Regions from separate parts of the Homo sapiens genome. Here region 1 is linked to region 2. The links are contacts of gene promoters, found by promoter capture Hi-C in human tissues and cell types (Jung and others, 2019). All regions are on one chromosome and are shown on one strand. The core of a region is centred on a gene start or on the middle of the fragment in contact, and the rest is flanking DNA. Distances in the headings are between cores, read along the strand shown.

What was found. Contacts are between HindIII fragments. The study calls those that stand out against the background at their distance.
Region 1: a contact is called between a fragment that was not itself captured here and the fragment with the promoter of SHISA7 in region 2, in 2 of the 25 tissues and cell types used here (dorsolateral prefrontal cortex and psoas muscle).

The regions. Positions count from the first base shown.
Region 1 is chr19:55,389,588-55,396,416 of GRCh38, forward strand. It overlaps RPL28 (ribosomal protein L28), which reads left to right. Exons shown (of 5, transcript NM_000991.5): 5 at 1-2,498. Among named protein-coding and RNA genes, the nearest start is that of MIR6805, 4.8 kb to the left of the region's middle. The HindIII fragment of the contact is 6,942 bases long and covers 1,702-6,829 here.
Region 2 is chr19:55,441,260-55,448,901 of GRCh38, forward strand. SHISA7 (shisa family member 7) reads right to left here and starts at 2,041. Exons shown (of 4, transcript NM_001145176.2): 1 at 934-2,041. The coding sequence starts at 1,604. RefSeq lists an enhancer at 733-1,361 and silencers at 855-944, 5,783-6,077. The HindIII fragment of the contact is 24,914 bases long and covers 1-7,642 here.

The DNA.
Region 1 (6,829 bases), core at 3,923-6,422, 49 kb before region 2:
CGTACGGGGCTGGGAGCCCTGCGTTTTGAGGCAGACCACTGCCCTTCCGACCTCAGTCCTGTCTGCTCCAGTCTTGCCCAGCTCGAAGGAGAGCAGATCTGACCACTTGCCAGCCCCTGTCTGCTGTGAATTACCATTTCCTTTGTCCTTCCCTTAGTTGGGTCTATTAGCTCAGATTGAGAGGTGTTGCCTTAAAACTGAGTTGGGTGACTTGGTACCTGCTCAGGACCCCCCGCACTGTCCCAATCCCACTCAGGCCCACCTCCAGCTGGCCTCACTCCGCTGGTGACTTCGTACCTGCTCAGGAGCCCCCACTGTCCCAGTCCCACTCAGGCCCATCTCTGGCTGGCCTCACTGCGCTGGGACTCCGCCTTCATAAGGAGAGCTCACTGCTCACGTTAGTAGATGGCCCCTTCTCGTGAGGCCTCTCCCCTGGCACCTGCTTCAGTTGTCCTCCACAGCACTGATTTGCAGCCCACAAGCTGGCAGGTTTATCTGTCTCATGTTTGTCTTGTGCTGGTGGGCAAGGGGTTTGTCTAGCACACCAGCATATAATGAGATGCTTGATGAATGGTGCATATTGAATGTATAAAGCCCACCGGTCCTGAGAGTTTGCTCACTGGAGACTTTCTGGAGATGGAGTCTCGCTCTGTTGCCCAGGCTGGCGAGTGCAATGGCGCGATCTTGGCTCACTGCAGCCTCCACCTCCTGGGTTCAAGCGATTCTCCTGCCTCAGCCTCCCGAGTAGCTGGGATTACAGGTGGGTGTCACCACACCCAGCTCAGTATTGTATTTTTAGCAGAGATGGGGTTTCACCATTTTGCCCAGGCTGGTTTGGAACTCCTGACTTCAAATTACCCACCTGCCTCAGCCTCCCAAAGTGCTGGCATTACAGGCGCTCGAGGCTTTCTGATGTGGCTGCTGCTGCTCAGAAGGCCTTGTCCTTAACCACCTCCTTGCCTGCCCTGGAGGCTTGTGCCTCTAGGCCCCACCCCCTGTGGAGTCCTGCTGGCTTTCTCCATCCCTATCTGAATCCTCCCTGCTGTGTGGCCTCCCCTGGTCTCATCCGTAACACAGCCCAGCTTAGTGGGCCTCTGTTCCTGCGGGTGGCCAGCCTGTCTGTGTGGCTGGGCTGGGGAGGCCACGTCTGGTATCTGAATGCTATCGGTGGGTTGGGGTGGAGGAACCAGGAGAGGGCTGGAGGGAGGGAGATGGTCTCAGCCCCACAGAGTTTGGAGTCCTCAGTGTGCTGAGCAAACGTGGAGACACCATTTCCCTCCTCTAGACCTCATCTTGGAGAGAGAGATGTTGGATGGGGCCATCTATTCCAGCTTTATTCACACAAATCATGTCTGTTGGCCTGGAAATTGGAAAACCAGTTAAACCAAAAACATGATATTAAGAAAACAGGCAGGCTCACCATAGTAAAAATGCTGAAAGCCAAAGACAAAATTGGGAGAACAAAAGAAAAGCGTCTTGTCACATACAGAAGGTCCCTGATAAAGTTAGTAGCTGCCCTCATCAGAAACCAGGCCCAGGCAGTGGGGACACATCCAGAGTGCTGAAAGAACCTCCCCCAGGTCATCCTATCCCCAAGAGTGATGCCCGGCAGCATTCCCAGCTCAGGGCTAATGGTTCACGGAAGCCAGGAATCAAACTGCCTGGGTTCCAGTCCCAGCTCTGCCAGTTATGCCCAGCTGTGGGGACTTGGGCAGCTCGTTTAGTAGCACCGTGCCTCAGTTTCCCATATGTAAAAGGCCATTTTGAGTGCCTTTCACAGCCCTGCATAAGGCAGGTGTCTCAGTGTTCACTGCTGTCTCTCCAGCTCTTAGTCCAGTAGCTGCATGGTGAGTGAGCGTAGGGCGCACCCTGGAAGGCTGCCAAGCCCAAAGTTGTGCAGAGCGCTGGGGACTCCAGACTCCCCACAGCAGCAGAGACTCGGGACTGAGGCATCCTCTGTTCACAGGACATGCTGGCATCTACTGGGTCAGGGCTCTGCTGCTCGGTGGCTGTGCAACCTTGGGCAAGTTCCTCAACCTCTCTGTGTCTTCGTACCCTCATCTGTAACATGCGTGTCGATAGACCCTACTACTCAGGGTTGATGAGAAGATTAAATGTGCAAAACCTGCTTGACTGTGCCCACAAATCCTGATTGTAGGAATAAATTAATGACTTTTTATAAATATTTTGATCAGATGGACTCATGATCACAGATGTCTTCACATGCCTATGACTAATTTGTACACAAACTAATGCTCGTGTTTCCCAAGCACCTGGAAGACATGCCAGATCCATGTGCAGTAATGCCTGGTGGCTCCAGGTCTGCCCCGCCGTCCTGTGGGGCTGTGAGCTTTCCCAGCCTCCTGCCCGTGTTTGTGAATATCATTCTGTCCTCAGCTGCATTTCCAGCCCAGGCTGTTTGGCGCTGCCCAGGAATGGTATCAATTCCCCTGTTTCTCTTGTAGCCAGTTACTAGAATAAAATCATCTACTTTAAAATCTTTCATTATGAAATATGCATGTGGTCTTGAAAAACTGCAAATGAAAGAAGAGTATGCAGGGGAAGAAAATCTCAGAATCCCAGCCCCTAAGTTAGCCACCTGTGCTTCTCCTTTTTGGAAACTTCACACATATGCATGCAGATCTCCTCTTTTTGTTTGTCTAAGAGACGGGGTCTCACTGTTGCCTGGGTTGGAGTGCAGTGGCGCAATCACGGCTCACTGCAGCCTCTAACTCCTGGGCACTCTCAATTGTCCCGCCTTAGCCCCTTGTGTAGCTGGGACTAAGGTGTGCAGCACCACGCCTGGCTAATTTAAAAAGATATTTTGTAGAGACAGGGTCTCACTGTGTTGCCCAGGCTGGTCCTGAAGTCCTGGGCACAAGCAATCCTCCTGACTTCGTCCCCCAAAGTGTTGGGATTACAAGCGTGAGCCACTGCACCCAGCCTCATCTTTTTTTTTTTTTGAGGCGGAGTCACGCTTTGTTACCCAGGCTGGAGTGCAGTGGCGCGACCTCGGGTGAGCTACGCCTCCCAGGTTCACGCCATTCTCCTGCCCCAGCCTCCCCAGGAGCTGGGACTACAGGCGCCCGCCACCACGCCCGGCTAAATGTTTTTTGTATTTTTAGTAGAGACGGGGTTTCACCGTGTTAGCCAGGATGGTCTCGATCTCCTGACCTCGTGATCCGTCCGCCTCGGTCCCCCAAAGTGCTGGGATTACAGGCGTGAGCCACCGCGTCCGGCCCCAGCCTCATCTTTTAATGTCTTACACAGATTGGATCATGGCAACAGGAACCTCCCCCTTGCTCCTTTTCCCTAATGCACTGGGCTGTCTCTCCATCAGCACACACAGGCTGCGGGCCCCTTTCGATGGCCATCAGCGCTGCATTGATGAAGCCACTCATTTAAACACACCCCTCAATGGCTAATCCCCCAGAGGCTCCCCAGCACCCCTCTCCTCTGTTCCTCTTGAACACCTGGCCCTCCCCCAGGCCCAGCCATCCCTAGCATGTCTGAATCACACCTCCAGCGGCCCCAGCTCCCACCGGCCTCCCACACCCGCCCGCTCCCCTGCTGTCCCTCCAGGCTGTTCTCTACACAGTAGCAAATTGATCTTTACAAATGATAAATGAGACCTGTCATCCTCCCTTGGCCGACGCACCCCCCCCCCCCCCCGACCCCCATGAGGAATAAAAGCCCAAACCTTTCTCTAGGGCCAGCAAGGCCCGGGATCTGGCCCTGTCCAGTCTCCCCAGCCTCCTTAGGCTGTAATCTCTGAGGCCTCTCTCCTCCCTGAAGCTCCTAGCTGGTCCCTAGGCTCAGATGAAGACTGTCTCCAAAAAAAGAAAAAGGTATAATTCACGTAACATAAAGTCCACGCTTTTAGAGTGCACAATTCAGTGATTTTTAGTCTTCACAAAGCTTTGCAACCACAACCCCTATCTTATTCCAGAACATTTCATCATCCTGAATGGACACCCAGTATCCATGAAGCAGCCACTCCCACTCATGTCCCCTCTAGCCCCTGCCCTGCCAATCACCAATTTGTTTTTTTTTTTTTTTTTTTGAGATGGAGTCTTGCTCTGTCGCCCTGGCTGGAGTGCAATGGCATGACCTTGGCTCACTGCGACCTCAGCTCACTGCAACCTCCACCTCCTGGGTTCAAGCGATTCTCCTGCCTCAGCCCCTCAAGTAGCTGGGATTACAGGGGCCCGCCACCACGCCTGGCTAATTTTTGTATTTTTAGTAGAGACGGGGGTGTCACCATGTTGGCCAGGCTGGTCTCGAACTCCTGACCTCAGGTGATCTGCCTGTGTTGGCCTCCCAAAGTGCTGGGATTACAGGTGTGAGCCACTGCACCCAGCTACAAGTCTTTTTTTTAAAGGGACAGGGTCTCAGCTGGGTACGGTGGCTCACTCCTGTAATCCCAGCACTTTGGGAGGCCCAGGCAGGCGGATCACAAGGTCAGGAGATCAAGACCATCCAGGCTAACACAGTGAAACCCTATCTATACTAAAAATACTAAAAACTGGCCAGATGTGGTGGTGTGCGCCTGTAGTCCCAGCTACTTGGCAGGCTGAGGCAGGAGAATCGCTTGAATCCAGGAGGCGGAGGTAGCAGTGAGCCAAGATCACGCCACTGCACTCCAGCCTGTGTGACAGAGCGAGACTCCGTCTCAAAAACAAACAAACAAACAAAAAGATAAAGGTCTGTTGCTCAGGCTGGAGTGCTGTGGCACAATCTCGGCTCACTGCAGCCTTGAACTCCTGGGCTCAAACAATCCTCCCACCTCAGTCTCCGAAGTAGCTGGCACCACCGGTGTGCTCCACCACACCCAGCTAAGTTTTAAATATTTTTGTAGAGACAAGGTCTCACTGTGTTACCCAGGTTGGGCTTGAATTCCTGACCTCAAGTGATCCTCCTGCCTTGGCCTCTAAAAGTGCTGGGATTACAGGTGTGAGCCACTGCACCTAGCCCAGAATTTCTATTTATTTATATATATTTTTAAAAAGAATCTCACTCTGTTTTCCAGGCTGGAGTGCTGTGGCAAGATCAAGGCTCTCTGTAGCCTTGAACTCCTGGGCTGAAACAGTCCTCCCACCTCAGTCTCCAGAGAGGCTGGGACCACAGGTGTGTGCTGCCACACCCAGCTAATTTTTAAAATTGTTTTGTAGAGACACGATCTCACTATGTTGTCCAGGCTGGTCTTGAACTCCTGGGCTCAATCCTCCCAAAGTGCTGGGATTATAGGCGTGAGCCACTGTGCCTGGCCCCACCCAGAATTTTTAAAACATGAAAAAGCTTATGTTTTGGGCCAATCTCTAAAATATATTAAGTGAAAAAAAGCAACCTGCAAATAGTGTAAATGATATGCCAACATTCCTGTTAAATATTTTTAAATATTTAAACAATAAGATGCATGTGTATTTGCTTGTATATGCATCGAATGCCTCTGGATAGTCACAATATGCAAACATTTGTCTCAAGGAAGGAGAGTTGGAATACCATGTGATGAATATTAGCCTTTCTTTTTTTTCCTTTTCTTATTTATTTATTTATTTATTTTTTTGAGACAGAGTTTCACTCTTGTCGCCCAGGCTGGAGTACAGTGGTGCGATCTCGGCTCACTACAACCTCTACCACCTGGGTTCAAGCGATTCTTCTGCCTCAGCCTCCCAAGTAGCTGGGATTACAGGCATGCGCCACCATGCCCAGCTAATTTTGTATTTTAAGTAGAAACAGGGTTTCACCATGTTGGCCAGGCTGGTCTTGAACTGACCTCAAGAGATCCACCCATCTTGGCCTCCCAAAGTGCTGGAATTACAGGCGTGAGCCACTGTGCCTGGCCTTCTTTTTCTCTTTTTTTTTTTTTTTTGAGACAGAGTCTCTTGCACTCTCCCCCAGTCTGGAGTGCAGTGGCGCCATCTCGGCTCACTGCAAGCTCCGCCTCCCGGGTTCACGCCATTCTCCTGCCTCAGCCTCCCTAGTAGCTGGGACTACAGGCGCCCACCACCACACCCGGCTAATTTTTTGTATTTTTAGTAGACATGGGGTTTCACTGTGTTAGCCAGGATGGTCTCAATCTCCTGACCTTGTGATCTGCCCACCTTGGCCTCCCAAAGTGCTGGGATTACAGGCATGAGCCACCGCGCCCAGCCTCTTTTTCTCATTTTAAAGATAAAAATTTCTATAATGAAATGGCTCCCTTTCATTCTTGTATCTGGGACAACCAGTTCCCTTGATCAGGGACAACCAATGTTACCAGGTTCTCGTGTATTTTTCTGGAGAAATTCTATGCAAATGCAAGGAAATTTATATATGTATTCTTTTGCCCCCGGCTTCCTTACATGACTGGTAGTGTCCCATACAAGGCATATTGCACCTTGCTTTTTTGACTTAACAGTAACCTTTGTCTGAGCGCGGTGGCACATGCCTGTTATCCTTGCACTTTGGGAGGCTGAGATGCGAGGATCCCTTGAGCCCAGGAGTTTGAGACCGGCCTGGGCAACACAGTGAAATTCCATCTGTACAAAAAAATTAGCTGGGCGTGGTAGTGTGCACCCGTAGTTCCAGTTCCTTGGGAGGCTGAGATTGGAGGATCACTTGAGCCCAGGAGTTTGAAGTTGCAGTGAGCTATGTTGGCACCACTGCACTCCAGCCTGAACAACAAGAATGTAAACTTGTAAAAAAAAAAAAACTTTAAAATTAAAAATTCTGAAATACAGCATACACACAGAAAAGTGCATAAAATGTATTTATACACTTAAAAAATCATAAAACACCTATGTAACCAATACCCAGGTCAGGAAATGGAAGACTACCAGACCCTCAA
Region 2 (7,642 bases), core at 791-3,290:
ACAGCCCCCTCACGGGTCTCCCCACTCCCACCCTAGCCCCGTACACTCCAGTCTCACGCGCAGCCCGCATAATTTAAAAAATGGACAGATGGCATCACGCCCGAGCTCAGGACCCTGCAGTGGCCCCATCACACTTAGGATAAACCCGGGCCCGCCTACTTCTCCTCACCTCCTGCTGCCCACCGCCGCCAGCTGCACGGGCGCTTCCCTGCCCTGCAGGCCACCGAGGGCCTTTGCACGCGGTTCCCCTGCCCAAAACCTCTCGCCCACAGATCTCTGCGTGGTTCGCTCCCTCCCTTCGGGTCTCCGTTCAGAGGCCTTTTCGGATCACTTCCTCTAATCCAGCGCCCTCTCTCTCAACACTTTCCGCTGATTTTCTTCACAGCAGTCATCTAAAATTACACTGCACATGCTTACGGACTGGGCCACTGATAGTTAATGAGCCCTTACCGTGTGCCAGGACCCTGCACGAATCAACTCAGTTAATTACAATCCGAATAGGTGGGGACGATGATTAGTCTCATTGTGCGGACAGGAAACTGAGGAACAGAGACGTTAAGCAACTCATCCACTGTCACATAGCCTGTAGGCTGTGAACTTGGATTTGGAAGTCAGGCTTTTCCACCAGGGCAGAGACCTTGTTTTGTTCACTGGTGTATCCCCAGCTCCTGGCCCACAGAAGGTGCTCAAGAAATATGTGTCGAATGAATGAGAGTCTGGGCTTCTCCCTCTCCCTGCATCACTCCGCAACAGCCGGGCCGGCTCTGGCGCGACTTTCTCAGCCCCTGCCCACCTTCAGCTACGCCGGCGGCCGCCACCTGGGTCTCTGACCACCACGCCCTATCCCTGCAGCCCCTCCTCCTCGGATGGCTCCACCTCCCTTGCTGGGCCCCGCCCCAGGCTCGCAGTCCTCCCGCCCGAGAGCACACGCACCTGGGCACGTTGATATCCCGGTGCGCCCGGGGCGCACGGGACGCCTTGCTGAAGGCCACTTTGGCGCCGACGCCCACGGCCAGGGCGAAGCTGATGACCCCGCACACGACGTAGGCTGTGCTGCCCCCGGGGCCCTCGCCCCCGCGGCCCCCGGCACCCCCAGTCCGGCCCCCTTCCAACCACCCGGCCTGGCCGGGCCCTGGCCCCCCGCCCGCACCCCCAGCGCCCCCGGCGCCCCCAGCTAGCGGCGGCGGCGTGGTGGCCCAGCGCGGCGTGTCGTAGTTGGAGCAGGAGGCCTGCGCCAGGCGCATGTGACGGTGCTCACAGCAGAAGCGGTAGTGGCAGGTGCCACAGCAGAAGCGGTAGGAGCCGGTGCTGCAGTTGAAGGTGGCGTCGTACTGGCCCATGACATCGTAGTAGCCGTGGCAGAGCTCGGCGGGAGGGGGCGCCCGGGCCGCCGCGCCCGCCCCGCCCGCGGGGCCGGTCCTGGTGCCGTTGGCGCCTGGGCTCGCCGCGCCCCCGCCGCCCGTCAGCGCCCCGGTCAGGCGCCGCAGGTGCGCCAGCAGGGCGGGCAGCGGGCCCGCGGGCTCGGCGCTCGTGGCGTTGGACGGGCGCGCCCTGGCCTGGCCGGCGCTAGAGGCCAGGAGTACGAGGAGCAGGAGGGCCGGCATGGGGCTTGCAGGGGGTCGCACTGGGCCGCCAGGCTGCGGGGAGAACGAGAGCAGAGGTTGGAGCGCTGGGCGGGAGAGAAACGGTCAGAGGGTGAGAAACGTAGAGATGGGTGGGCAGAGAGGCTGGGGAGGGCGGGCGGGGGGCGGCAGAGTGTGGGGAGCAACAGGCGCCAGGAGGCAGGAAGGGCGGAGGGAGCTGAGCTGCGTGGGCCCAAGTTGGCCGCCCCACGCGCGGTGGGCGACGATGGGAGAGTAATGGAAACGCGCCCGGGCACGGCTGGGGGAGAGAAATGAGCATGGGCGGACAGAACCGGGATCAGGCGAGAGATGAATGCGGGAGAAGCGATTGGGAGGGTCGACAGACACCAGAGGGGTGTGCAGACATTAGGACGAGGAGCGAGGCGAGGCGCGATGTAAGGAGAAGAAACGGGGGCGGCGAAGAGGAGAGGGCAGGGGAGGCAGCTGGAGGGAGGCGCGCGAAGGGGAGGGGAGGGTGGCGAGGGGAGTGGGGACCGCGGAGGGAGGGAAGGAAGCGAGACAGATGAGGGGTGGGTGGGAAAGGAGGAGTCAGGGAGACGGGGAAGGAGGGAGAAAAGAAGGGGAGGAGGAGGAGGGGGAGGAGAGGGAGGGAGGAGGAGAGAGAGAAGTTGAGAATTTGAGTTTATAGACCAGGCAAGTGGGAAGAGGCAGTGCACGGTTTTTCAACACTGACATTCGGGGACCGATGCTGCTTTGTGGTGAGCGCCTGTCCTGAGCGCTGTAGGATGTTTAGCAGCGCCCTCTCCATGCCAGCAGCACCACATTCCCCCGAGTTGTGACAATGTAAGATGTTTCCAGGCATTGCCAAATGTTCCCCTGGTGGGAGGAGGCCACAGCTGCCCCCGTGGAGAACCACTGACTTACACCCCTATGGTCCTCAGTGCCCCGAAATGCCAATTTCTCTCCCTTAGTTAGATCTGATAATCAAGGGATCTTAGGTGCCCTCCCTCCCTCCCTCTCTCTCCCTCTCTCTCTCTCTCTCCCTGGCATGCACACGCACACACACACCACTGTTACGGCGTCGGGTTTGAAGGGTCTCTGTCCACAGCTGAACCACAACCACAGCAGGGTGGTTCCCCTGCCGACTGGACCTCCTGCCAGCTGCCTGACACTGACAGGCTCTTATCTAAGCTCCCTGTGCCCCAAGTCCCCCATCTGTAAAATGGGGATAAGGATGGTTATCTCTGAGTGGTCAGGAGGATGAACTGAGGGAATATGTGTAAAGAGCTTAGAACAGTGCCTGGCATATTGCAGGTGAAATATGAAAGTGTTTGCTGCTGCTGCTATTTCAGAAGGGAGATACAGGCTGAGAAAGGGTCGTCCGGGTGCGGCGGCTCACGCCTGTAAATCCCAGCACTCTGGGAGGCCAAGGTGGGCAAATTGCTCAAGCAGGAGACCAGCCAGCCTCGCCAACACAGCAAAACCGTGTCTTTACAAAAAAAAAAAAAAAAAAAATTAGCCCGGCGTGGTCGTGCGCACCTATAGTCCCAGGTACTCAGGACGCTGAGGTGGGAGGATAACTTGAGTCCCAGAGATCAAGGCTGCTGGGAGCTGTGATTTCACCACCGCACTCCAGCCTGAGTTGACAGAGTGAGACCCTGTCTCAAAAGAGAGAGAAAAGGTGATGCAGAAGAGAGGTGGGAGTTGGTGGTGGTGGTGGTGGGCACGTCTTCCAGCTGTTTCTATGGCAACAGTCCAGCCAAGTCCCAGACACGCCCACCCCCGTGGACCTAGAGGGATGATAGAGGTGGGAAGGATGCCTGGCCTCGGGTTCCGGGAGAAGGAAACGTCTGAGCTCTACCTGCAGGAGGAACCCCCCAGGGGTCTGGGGTGACTGCCCACGGAGTCTTACATTTCCTCTCTGCAAGAACCTGATCTGAACAGCCCCTGCCCTGAGCTAGCTGCCGAGAGGCTGCCATAGAGCTTCCCAGGAGCAGGCATGATGCGCGGGGTGTGCATTCGTTCTGCAAATCTTCATTCAATAAATGTCTCCTGAGCAGCCTCCCTGGGCTGAGGATGCAGCAGTGAGTAAGCCCACAGGGTTCCTGCCTTTACGGGGGTTTACGTGCTAGTGAGGGGGGACAGTCAGCAGATGGACACAAATGAATGGGACACATGTTGACGCCAATTGTGAAGAAATAAAAAGGAATGATGAAGGAAGCCGTGAAGAAATGAAAGCAGCATAAAGGGATGGAGGGGGTGGATGGGATTGAGTCAATAAATATCACTCGGTGTTATTTTCTATTATATGCCACCATCCATCGTGTGTGTGTCTAGGGACCACACCACTGTCAACAACATTGCTGCTGGTGGGGATGGGCAGAGGGTTGGAAGGTGAACCTTCCAGAGCCTCAGTGAGCTCCATCGCCCTCCTGCTTGGGGCCTCACCTTTCCTTTTCAGCTCCAGCTTGGACCCCTCCCCTGACTCGGTGCTAGAATACCCCACTGCCCACTGGACACTTCCTCCTGGGTGTTTAATGGGAGTCTTAGAAGTGGCTTGACCCCACACTGTGGAAGAGAGTTTGGCGGTTCCTTAAAAAGTTAACTAGAATTGGTCCAGGCGCGGTGGCTCACGCCTGTAATCCCAGCACTTTCGGAGGCCAAGGTGGGCGGATCACTTGCGGTCAGCCTGGCCAATATGATCACTTGCAAGACCAGCTTGGCCAATATGACGAAACCCCGTCTCTACTAAAAATACAAAAATAACTAGCCGGGCATGGTGGCGTGCGCCTGTAGTCCCAGCTACTCAGGAGGCTGAAGCAGGAGAATCGCTTGAACTCCGGAAGTGGAGGTTGCAGTGAGCCGAGATTATGTCATTGCACTCACTGTACTCCAGCCTGGGCAACAGAGTGAGACTCCGTCTCAAAAAAAAAAAAAAAAGTTGGCCGGGTGCGGTGGCTCATGCCTGTAATCCCAGCACTTTGGGAAGCTGAGGCGGGTGGATCACGAGGTCAGGAGATCGAGACCATCCTGGCTAACACGGTGAAACCCCGTCTCTACTAAAATTACAAAAAATTAGCCGGGCGTGGTGGCGGGCGCCTGTAGTCCCAGCTACTCGGGAGGCTGAGGCAGAAGAATGGCGTGAACCCCGGAGGTGGAGCTTGCAGTGAGCAGAGATCGTGCCACTGCACTCCAGCCTGGGCTGACAGAGTGAGACGTCGTCTCAAAAAAAAAAAAAAAAAAAAGAAGTTAACTAGGATTACCATGCACTTCCACTCTGCAGTGTCTACCCCAAAGAATTCAAAACATGTGTCCACACAAAACCTTATCCTTGAATGTTCATAACAGCACCTTGCACAACAGCCAAATACTGCAAACAATGCAATCACCCATTATGGAGGAACGGACAAACCAACGACGGCCTACCCATGCCACAGAATATTACTCAACCGTGACAGGTACCAAGGGCTGAGATACAAGCCACAGCATGCACGAACCTTGAAGACATGACGTTCAGTGGAAAAGTCCAGCCATAAATCTCATGTAGTGTATGATTTCATTAATATGAAATATCACAATAGTCAAATCCACAGAGACTGAAAGCCGATTAATAATTGCCCGGAGCTGGGGACAGGAGGATGGGGGGTGACCGCTAAAGGGTGGCCAGGCTTCCTTGTGTGGTGAGGAAAATACCCTGGAACTAAATAGTGGTGATGGCTCCACAACCTGATGGATACGCTAATGCCACCGAATCAAACACTTTGAGAATGGTTAAATGGTGTATTTCCCCACAATTAAAAAGGTAACAGGGACTGGCATGGTTGCTCACGCCTGTAATCCCAGCACTTTGGGAGGCCGAGGCAGGCGGATCACTTGAGGTCAGGAGTTTGAGACCAGCCTGGCAAACATGGTGAAACACTGTCACTACTAAAAGTACAAAAATGAGCCCGGCGCAGTGGCGGGCGCCTTTAATTCCAGCTACTCGGGAAGCTGAGGAAGGAGAATCGCTTGAACCCCGGAGGCTCAGGTTGCAGTGAGCTGAGATCACACCACTGCACTCCAGCCAGGGTGACAGCGTGAGACTCCATCTCAAAAAAAAAAAAAAAAAAAAAAAAAAGGAAACACGTCAAATGGCATCAACCACTCCCCTGTCCGCATTCTGGTTCCCTGTCACACCTGGAATAAAACCCCAACTCTGCCAGTAGCTCCTCTTCTCATCCTTTCCTTTTCCCTTCATACCTTCCAAGTTCATGCTCAAGACGCTCCACCTTCCTGCCTGTGCACGTGCTGTTTCCTTCGTCTGGGAGCCCCTTCCTTTCCACAGATCCTGCTCTGACCTGCCTCCTTTCTCCCTTCCTTCAGGGTGTCCCTAGCATGTCATTTCAGCCAGCCTTCCTGTCCTAGCGGTAACAGCAGCCCCAGACATGCTCCCAATTCCTCACTTGCTTTGCAACTTTCATAGCTGTCATCTCTGCTGGCCACATGTGTGTGTACTGACACACTCATTTCAGATGAGGACGCTGAGGTTCCGAGAGGTCACATCATTTGCCTGAGACCCAAGGTGCCCAAAGAGTGGGGCTGGGCTTTGAACTCAGGTCTCTGAGCACTGTGACCTGTACAGCATGGATGCCTTTTTCCCCCACACAGAGACACATCCCTTCCAGAAGTGGCACATGCATGCAGCACTGCAGATTCCTTCATTCATTGAGGGCTACCATGTAGGGTTGGGCAGGTCGTGCACTGCACAAGGGGGTCTGGCTGAGAGGCTGAAATCCTGCTGGGCTCTGCTTCCCAGGGCGTGTGCCAGTGGGGCTGCATCCATTTGGGGTAAGGAGTGCCCCTTCCAAGCTCACACAAGGGTGCCATCTGCGTGCCAAACCACAGACCTGGGAGAGCGGATTGGGCAAGGTGGGGGGTGCCTTTGTCTCATCTGCACAGAGGCTGCTGTATGGGCTGGCAGTTCTGCTCACTCCGCATTCCGTGCCAAGCCTCCGCCAGGCTCCATGGACACGATTTCTCCCTCTGCTGACAGAGTCCCACTGGCTGCTCCAACTGCACGCACGTGGTGCACACACCCAAGGAGACACAGCTCTAGGCCATTGACAACTCCAGCAGGGGGACAGGGAGGGAGAGCAGGAGCAGTGGCGCACCTCCCCTCAAACTCAGCGATACACGCAGACGCACCACACACAGACCACACATACACACACACACACACCACACACACCACACATACACATACACCACACACTGACCCTCCACACCACACACGCCGCACAGACCACACATACACACACACACCACACACACACCACACACACCACACATACACACACACACCACACACTGACCCTCCACACCACACACACGCCACACAGACCACACATTACACACACACGCCACACACACACACCACACACTGACCCCCCCACACCACACACACGCCACACAGGCCACACATACACACACACACCACCCACAGACCACACAAACACACACACCACACATACACACACCACACACACACACACCACACACACCACACATACACATACACCACACACTGACCCTCCACACCACACACGCCGCAGAGACCACACATACACACACACACCACACACACACACCACACACTGACCCTCCACACCACACACACGCCACACAGACCACACATACACACACACGCCACACACACACACCACACACTGACCCCCCCACAACACACACACGCCACACAGACCACACATACACACACACACCACACACACACACCACACACACCACACATACACATACACCACACACTGACCCTCCACACCACACACGCCGCACAGACAACACATACACACACACCACACACACACACCACACACACACCACACATACACACACACCACACACTGACCCTCCACACCACACACACGCCACACAGACCACACATACACACACACACCACACACACACCACACATACACACACACACCACACACACACACCACACACTGACACACGCACACAGGCCACACATACACACACCACACACACACACACACCACACA